2 separate regions of the Homo sapiens genome follow, and region 1 is linked to region 2. Evidence: promoter capture Hi-C in human tissues and cell types (Jung and others, 2019). All regions are on one chromosome and are shown on one strand. The core of a region is centred on a gene start or on the middle of the fragment in contact, and the rest is flanking DNA. Distances in the headings are between cores, read along the strand shown.

Region 1 (3,950 bases), core at 1,367-3,866, 170 kb before region 2:
CGGCTTGCCCTTGAGTTCTTTCCTGGGTGAAGCCAAGAACCCTGGCGGGCCAAGCCCTACTTTGGGGCTTGCCTGTCCTGCATCAGTTGTAAGTTCCAGGATGCCTCCCATCTGCCAGCCATGGTAGCTCCTGCCTCTGTCTCAACTTCTCCTCTTGGTTCTGTGAATGCCTCTTAGCTGAGAAAGATTTCCAATAAACTGGACCTGACATTTTGAAAGTCTGAAGTTGGTAATTGGGCCTTCGTTCTGCCAGGTTCAGGCTGTGCTGAGGTCCACTTCTTAGCTTGATTCTTTCTTCCTAAACCTCAGGCTCCTCCAAGATGCCTTGGCCTGCTGATAATTTGCATCCTTAGGGTAGGAGGCCAGCAGGAACCAGAAACTGCAGAGAGGGCGGCTTCTGGGATGCTGCCTTTGAGGGGGTGGGGGCCGTAGGGGGATTCTCAAAACTGAGTTTCGTATCTGGGGTCCACTCTCCTCACCAGGGAAGGGGCACATGGATGGGCTTTGAAAGGTTCCTGAGCCTCCTGAAATTGTATGCAAAAGTTTGCCATTGAAATTTTCGGTGGAGAGGGTCTGAAATTTTCATCTGATTCTTAATAACGTTGAGAACCCTAAAGAACTCAAGAATCACTAGTTTAAAAATCAGGGATTGGAGAATTGGGAAGAGCTAGAGGCAACAGGAGTGTTAACTCTGGAGAAGAACAAGAGGATGAAATGGATCTTGAGTAACTCTGATGTTTTGTTTTGGCAGCGAGACTGTTTATGAACAATGCCAGTGTTCCCTGTACTTAATCTGCATTGTTGCACTCAACCCTCATAATAGCCCTTTGAAGGAGACATTGCATTCTCACTTTGCATATAAGGAAATGGGGTGCTTGGGGAGGTTAGACGACTCACCTAAAGTCACACAGCTAAGAATGGTGGAGTTTGGATTCAAACATGGTTTTATCTACCTTCAGAGGACAGATAAGATATGCAGCACGGGAAGCTAATTAGAAGTAGGGAGAAACTTTCTCCACACAGTTGACTATATGCTGAAATAGTAATGAAGAGATGTAAAGTTTAACTACTCCTAGAGATTTTATTTTATTATTTTATATATATTTTTTGAGACAGAGTCTCACTCTGTTGTCCAGGCTGGAGAGCAGTGGCGCTATCTTGGCTCACTGCAACTGCCACCTCTCAGGCTCAAGCGATCTTCCCACCTCACCCTCCCAAGTAGCTGGAATTATAGGCACATGCCACCATGCACAGCTAATTTTTTGTAATTTCTTAAAATAGAAATGGGATTTTGCCATGTTGACCAGGCTGCTCTTGAATGCCTGACCTCAAGTGATCCACCTGCGTTGGCCTCCCAAAGTGCTGGGATTACAGGCATGAGCCACTGCGCCCGCCTACTCCTAGAGATTTTAAGTAACTTCTTTCATTTTATAGCGCTCAAGTAGTACAATGTAGATTACTTTATTCAGGTCTTCCTAACAACCTGTCAAATGTATAAGGTAAATATTATTTCCTGCATTCTGCAGTGACACAGACTTCCCAGTATACTGCAAGGAGGAAGCAGCAGCTCCCTGCTGCCCAGCCCGAGATGCAGCTGCTGAGCTACAATTAGCTGGATGCTGGAGGCTGGACCTGAGGGCCTCTGGGAATTCCTTCTGGCTTAAGAGAGCCATCATTTAAAAACTGGTTTCAGTTGTAGGGGAGTCTCAACCATCAGTGACGTCTGTTGTTTTGAGTTTTCCTCCTAAAGTGCTTTTCTTTCTGCAAGATAAAAGAGAATTTCTTGGAAAAAAAAAAAAAAAGAAAACTTTTTTGTTAACACCCAAGTTATCATAAGGATACAGTAAAACCCAACATCAGAGAGACACAGGTGGTGGTGACTAACATGAGCCAACACAAGCCAAGAGCACCAGCACCCAGTGCACAAACCCCCATCACAGGCCCAGCAAGTTCAATGCAGCTCTGGTTTGGGAGGTTTTAGGAGCAAGCAGCTGTTTTATTTCTAACCACTGACTTATGGAAAGATTGAGTTGCAGTTTGTGTGTGTGTTGGGGGTGGGGGGTGGTGTGGGGAGGTGTAGGGGGATGGGACCAGGCCCTGGGGGAGGTGAGTAGGGTACAAAACATAAGTGAAGCAGCATCATTGTCTGGGGTAAATACCTGGGGTTCGTCATTTGGCGCCAAGAAGATTAGGGACACGGACACACATGGATGGGTTAAGGAGCAGAAAGTCTAATAGGCAGAAGAAAGGAGAGAGATGGACATCTGGGCATCTGAAAGGGAAAAACTGGCCTGAGGCATACCACAGCAGATTTTATAGGCAGGCTTGAGCAGGTGGTGTCTGATTTACATAGGGCCCACAGATTAGTTCCACAAGGTGTGACATATACATAGCACGAAGTGAAAGGCTGGTAGCCCCACCCTGATCTTATTATGCAAATGGGCTTTCCACTTGGCCAGGATCTTGCCTGCTCCTTATTGTACATGTGGCTGGCAAAGAGACAGGAAGATGGAGCCAAATTTTGATCATGCCTAGTCCCAGGTAGCCTATTTCTATTGACATAACTGCCGGCATTCACCCGTGCAAACTTCCAGCTTCCCTTTCTATGTCTGCAGCTCGATTTTACAGGCTGCTCTTTGTTAGAAAAGAAAATGATTTTGGGGCTGCTTTTCATTAAAAGGAAAACCTTAGTGAGGACTTCCTTACCCTCACTATCTGCCTAAATAATTTGTTTTTAACTCCTATATCTTAAGGCAGCACCCACTCTCAGAATTGCTCCTGTGTGGGGTCAGCCCTGAGAGTGGTGCCTCTTTATATTTTTCATCCTCTAAGCCTCACTCACCGCCAGCTGGGCCTGGGCCTGAGCAATAGGGTTGGGCCTTCTCATTAAAGACATTTAAAGTCCCTGTCTCCTAGCTCATAACAGTCAATGAACAGAATGCTTATTTAAATATTCTCTTCCCTCTAAAAGGAACAGTTGGGTTGCTGCAGGTGCATATGGAGTGAGCATATGTAGGGGTCTGTCCTTCAGCTAAACACCACTCCATGCTCTGGTGGGTGTGAACGCCCCCCAGTGGGTGGAACTGTTCCTATGATTAGTCATATTTTGTTTAATTTTTACTCCTAATGGATCACTGGTTGAAGAGAGGAAGTATAAGGAACACTCACATTGAAATTAAAAAAAGACAATGAGAATTGTTTGCCTCACAATCACCTTGAACAAATCAGCAAGCTGCATGTAGCTACTCAAAATTCTCATATAGCATATCAACGTGTCTCTAGTACTTCAAAAACCAATATTAAAACAGAAAAAGTGCATTTCATTTTGGTTTTTCATTTATTGGGAATAAATATTATGCATGAAGATTTTGTCTGCAGATGAGATGCTTGAAAGTAGCAGGCTGAAAGCTTCTCTTTTATCTCCTTTAGAAATAAAATATGAAATATTTTAAGAAAAAAGACTAGTTCATTCTTTAAAGTGCAAAATTTAATAATTTCAGTCATCTGGTCATCAGAGCAGTTTTTGATGCTGTAATATCTAGTCAAAATTTTAGTATGTGTTCCAGCCCCAAACCAAACACTTCAGACTAAGACGGTGTTTTAAATTTCTGAGGGAATTTCTGAGTCATCCTTCTGTGAAACGACTGGAATGTGCGGGTGTGAAAGAAAGAGTCTAAGCTTTGGAGCCAGAGAGAACTGACTTGGGAATCCTCCCGGACCATGCCACACCACAGGAATCCTTCCGGACCACACCAATCCTGCTGCTCTTGTAGCTTCGGTTTCCACATCTGCAAGAAACAGCCTGGGAAGCTTGAGTGCACGTGCCATGAGCTTACTAGATGTGATCTCTCCATGGATGGCAACTTTTTGTCATTTATGTTTGGGCTCCATTCTTCCTTGACAACCGATTTAATTGCTACCCCACCCCCATGCCCAAAACCGCCTCCTGC
Region 2 (3,816 bases), core at 267-2,766:
TTACCCCCTCCACCCAGGGAATTCCCAGAACTTGGGAAGGGAAAGTGGCAGGAGTTAGCATCAATGTCTCACAGTGTAATCATGTCACTGCCATCTGTTTCCTTTCGTTCTATATTCAAAAGGCTATAAATGATTTAGACAAATCCTAGCATACTCTGACCCTCCTCCAAAACCAACAGGCAGATGTTGAGGGAGGAAGGTGAGTGGGCCTTAGGCGATCTTATTTTTCCTCTCCTCATAAGGTGGGGGAAGGCCTGGGAACTGAGTGTGTGGCACCTGAGGCTGTATCTTAAGAGTTTGCATGGTAATCCTAGAGAACCACAGATAGCATCCAAGCCAGATGCCAGTCAGAGAGACCCCCGTCCCGGACTCTCTAATTGATGTCCCAGAGCCTTGGGAGGAGGACATGGTTATCATGCTCAGGTTTAACATCCCGAGTGTCTTCTTCATGGCTGCAAGGTGCAAGCACACAGCTAGTATATGCAACTCCAGTGGGAATGAGACTGGATTCCAAATCAGTGGGAAGACAGAGAATAATGGAAACGTAGGAAAGAGGTAGGAAGAGAAAAATAGGGGCATGTCAAGGCGTCGCTGTAGTGCGCATGACAGCAAGGGACAAAAACAAAAACAGAGATGAGAGAACTCCAGACTTGACCCTCCAAGGGCCTGGACAGGCCATCAGGCCGGGCAGTCTCCATCCCCTGACCTCCTCAGCCTGCACTGATTGGGAGGGGCCTCCTCCCTCCCGCCACCGTGGGAAGAGAGAACATGATTCCCTGCAGATCTGAGCAAAGTGCCACAGCCTCCCAGGATGCTCAGCCCTGCCCTGAGAGCTGGGGTGGGTAGGAGGATGGCAGAGAGCGGTCAAGAGCAGTTATTGCCACAGGACACCGGGGGAAGAAGGCGCTGGAGAGAAGGATGGAAGCAGGCAGGACAAGTTCGGAAGGTCAGATGGGATAAAGGCGTCTTTGGTAGGTAGTTCCCGCTTGCCTTTGACCTCTGTTGAGTCTACAAACAGGTATTATGTGCCAACTCTATTTTGGTTAGGGAGACAGGTATGGGTGTGCCTGGGAGGCTCAGGCTACTGGGTGGAATTCAGAAATACCGCGGGGGACAGTCCTCAGCCCCAAACTCAGCCCACTCCTTCCTCGCAAGCTCCCTGGGCCCAAAGCTTGCCGGGCCTCAGTTTCTCCTCCGAGAAAGGGGAGGGCGAGGCTGGCAGTACCTGGCGGCGTCGGGTGGAAGGCAGGGGGCGCACTTGATGGCGTACTCCGTCCGCCAGCGCCTGTGCCGCGCCTGGAACACCTGGCTGAAGCCGCCGCTGGCCACTAGGCGCCAGTCGCCCTCGAAGTCGTCGCGGGTGAAGACGGGGAGGCTGCCCAGCCGCAGCTCGGTGGGGTCGGCAGCCATTGCCCCTCTCTTCCTGTCCCCGCGCCGCGCACTCCCCGCTGTGGCTGCTGCCTGGGTGGCCGAAGGAGCCGCCGCTTCCTGCTCCTCGGGTCCGGGAGAGGGGAATGGGGAGACGAGCCGGCCCTGCCTCCTTCCCCGCCCAAGAGGAGCCGCTCCTGCCCCGCAAAGGTGGGGAAATCCCAGACATGAGCCCTGAGGCCCCAGCAGGGATGGAGCGACCTGGGCCTGGGGAAGAGGGTATGTCCCTCCGAAGCCCTCGCATTTCCCCTGTCTCAGCCTTTGATTTTCCCCAGTTCCCCCTAGGGAGGGATGCTGGGAGAAGGTGTCCCGAAGCTGGAAGAAGTCCAGCCTGAGAAGTTGGATCCAGTTTATTTAGGCCCAGCGCTAAGTGAAATCGGTTTATGCATTCCTTCAGTGCATTCAAGGTTTTATGGTTTATGAAGGATTCAGGCCTGGACCCCTGCCCCTATCCAGCAAGTATGGGGCTCAAACAATTTTAATGGGGATTTTCTGGTCTGAATCTGTTGGTCTGACTGGTTTCATGTTTCCTTTGTTCTTGTTGGGGTTTTGTTTGTTTGTTTGTTAGCCAGCCTTGGTGTGCTATAGGTTACCAAGGAGGGGTCAGCAGGGACAGAGTTGCGGGGGAGGCTGGGCTCCTGTCTGCAGGGGACTCCCTTCCTGGGCTGCGCTCTATCCAACCTCAGAGGGATGGACCCCAGCCTCGGGGTGGCCACGGGGGAGGTGGCCTCCTTGGCGCAGTTACTAGGGGCAGTTTGTTGCCAGGGATGAGAGGAGGCTCTAGCTGGAGCCTGACCAGTGCTGAGCTTGGAGGTTCCCCTGGGTCCTGGGTCCATGGGATTGCCCTCTCACCTTGGAGACCCTCAGAGCAGGGAAAATGACAAGTGCTTGAACAGACAGGTCTCCCCAGGGGCACTGACCAAGTGGGCCATTGCCCAGAGACAGGCATACCTGGAGGAACTGTGGCCACGGAGTGCAGAGTCAGCCACTATTTGCCTACAGCTGAGTAAGTCCACAAGGAGCCCTCAGAGTGATCACTGTTAGGTTTGAGGAGCCTACCTACCAGACAAGGAAGTGCCTTGCCTTCAGCCCAAACCTGCAGAGCCCCTCGTCCATGCCACAAGCCCACCAGACTCCCAGGGAACAGTGTAGGCATGATAGGCAAACAGAGACTCCCTGTGGAAGCTGGAGAACTTGCTCCCTCTGTAACAACTTACCTGCAACTTCCAGGATGAATTCTGGCAAGCAGATTAAGGATCAAAGATTGGGCCTGGAGACAGTTGTCATAGAAACTAGTGATAGCCACTACTAATTGAACACTCACTTTGTTCCAGGATCAGTGACTATTTCAGTTACTGCATTGCTTTACATATATTATCCTGTTTATCTTGCAACAATGTTATGAGGTCAACATCTTCTATTCACAGATGAGGAAACTGGCTTCAAGACAATAAGTAATCAATGGACACATAGCTAGTAAGTGGTAGTTGATATTCAAACTCAAGTCTCTTAGTTTCTATGGAAATGGTTGGCCAGGGGAGGATCAGGGAGTAGCCTTTTATGAATACAAAAAAGGAAGAGAGAGAGTCATGCTCCCTGGAAGAGGGTGGAGATGATGGAAACTGCATCAGGAGCAGGACGTATCCCCCAAACATATGTCAGAGGGAGGCCCCCAGCTTGCTTTGGCTGGAGCAAGACAGGGCATAACAGAACCCATTGTCTCTGGAGTAGCCCTGCCTGCCCAAGTTTAAAGCCTCTGCCAGAGAAGTTTGGAAGGTGATAAAGGACATTGTCATCAGGGAGACCAGGAGGTCAAGAGGATGTTTCATACCTTCTACTGGGAGGGTGAACATGGAGACTGGGAAGGTGACCAGCCACCCAGCTCTGCGGAAGTTTGACTGAGGCCCGATCTTTGACATTCAGCGAGACCTATCTCAGCTCCTGGAGGAAATACCAAGGGTGAATGGCCTGAGTCATTTCAGCAGTTCCCCTTGATCCACTTATACCTGAAGTGGCTCTCCAGGGAGAGGAAGTAACCAGAAGCTGCCATTGTCTGCCTGCAGAGACTGTCACAGGAATACTGAAGAAAGCATCATTCCTAGAAGAGGGGACACCCAGGGCTCAAGGCATGTTGCCAGAATCCCGAACAAAATACCTCTGAATTTCTCACAGGGGTGGAGGTGGAGGAACTGCAGGGTCAGGGCGTATTACTGCTGACCCACCTGTTGAAACTCTCTGCTGTGGGTTCAAGCACCCCTGAGGCTTCTGAGGAGTCAGTCAAAATAGATACATTCATTGACCCAGAGGGACTGGATCATTTGACTGGGCTTGTCCTGCTCCTTACAGCTGTCTAACATGGGCTAGGGCAAAGGCCTAGTAGTCTTTGGA

The links. Contacts are between HindIII fragments. The study calls those that stand out against the background at their distance.
Region 1: a fragment that was not itself captured here is called in contact with the fragment with the promoter of ANKK1 in region 2 in 2 of the 25 tissues and cell types used here (mesenchymal stem cells and thymus).

What each region holds. Positions count from the first base shown.
Region 1 is chr11:113,553,192-113,557,141 of GRCh38, reverse strand. No RefSeq gene overlaps it. Among named protein-coding and RNA genes, the nearest start is that of DRD2, 80 kb to the right of the region's middle. RefSeq lists an enhancer at 2,926-3,427. The HindIII fragment of the contact is 3,073 bases long and covers 1,080-3,950 here.
Region 2 is chr11:113,385,479-113,389,294 of GRCh38, reverse strand. ANKK1 (ankyrin repeat and kinase domain containing 1) reads right to left here and starts at 1,516. Exons shown (of 8, transcript NM_178510.2): 1 at 1,226-1,516. The coding sequence starts at 1,410. The HindIII fragment of the contact is 9,665 bases long and covers 448-3,816 here.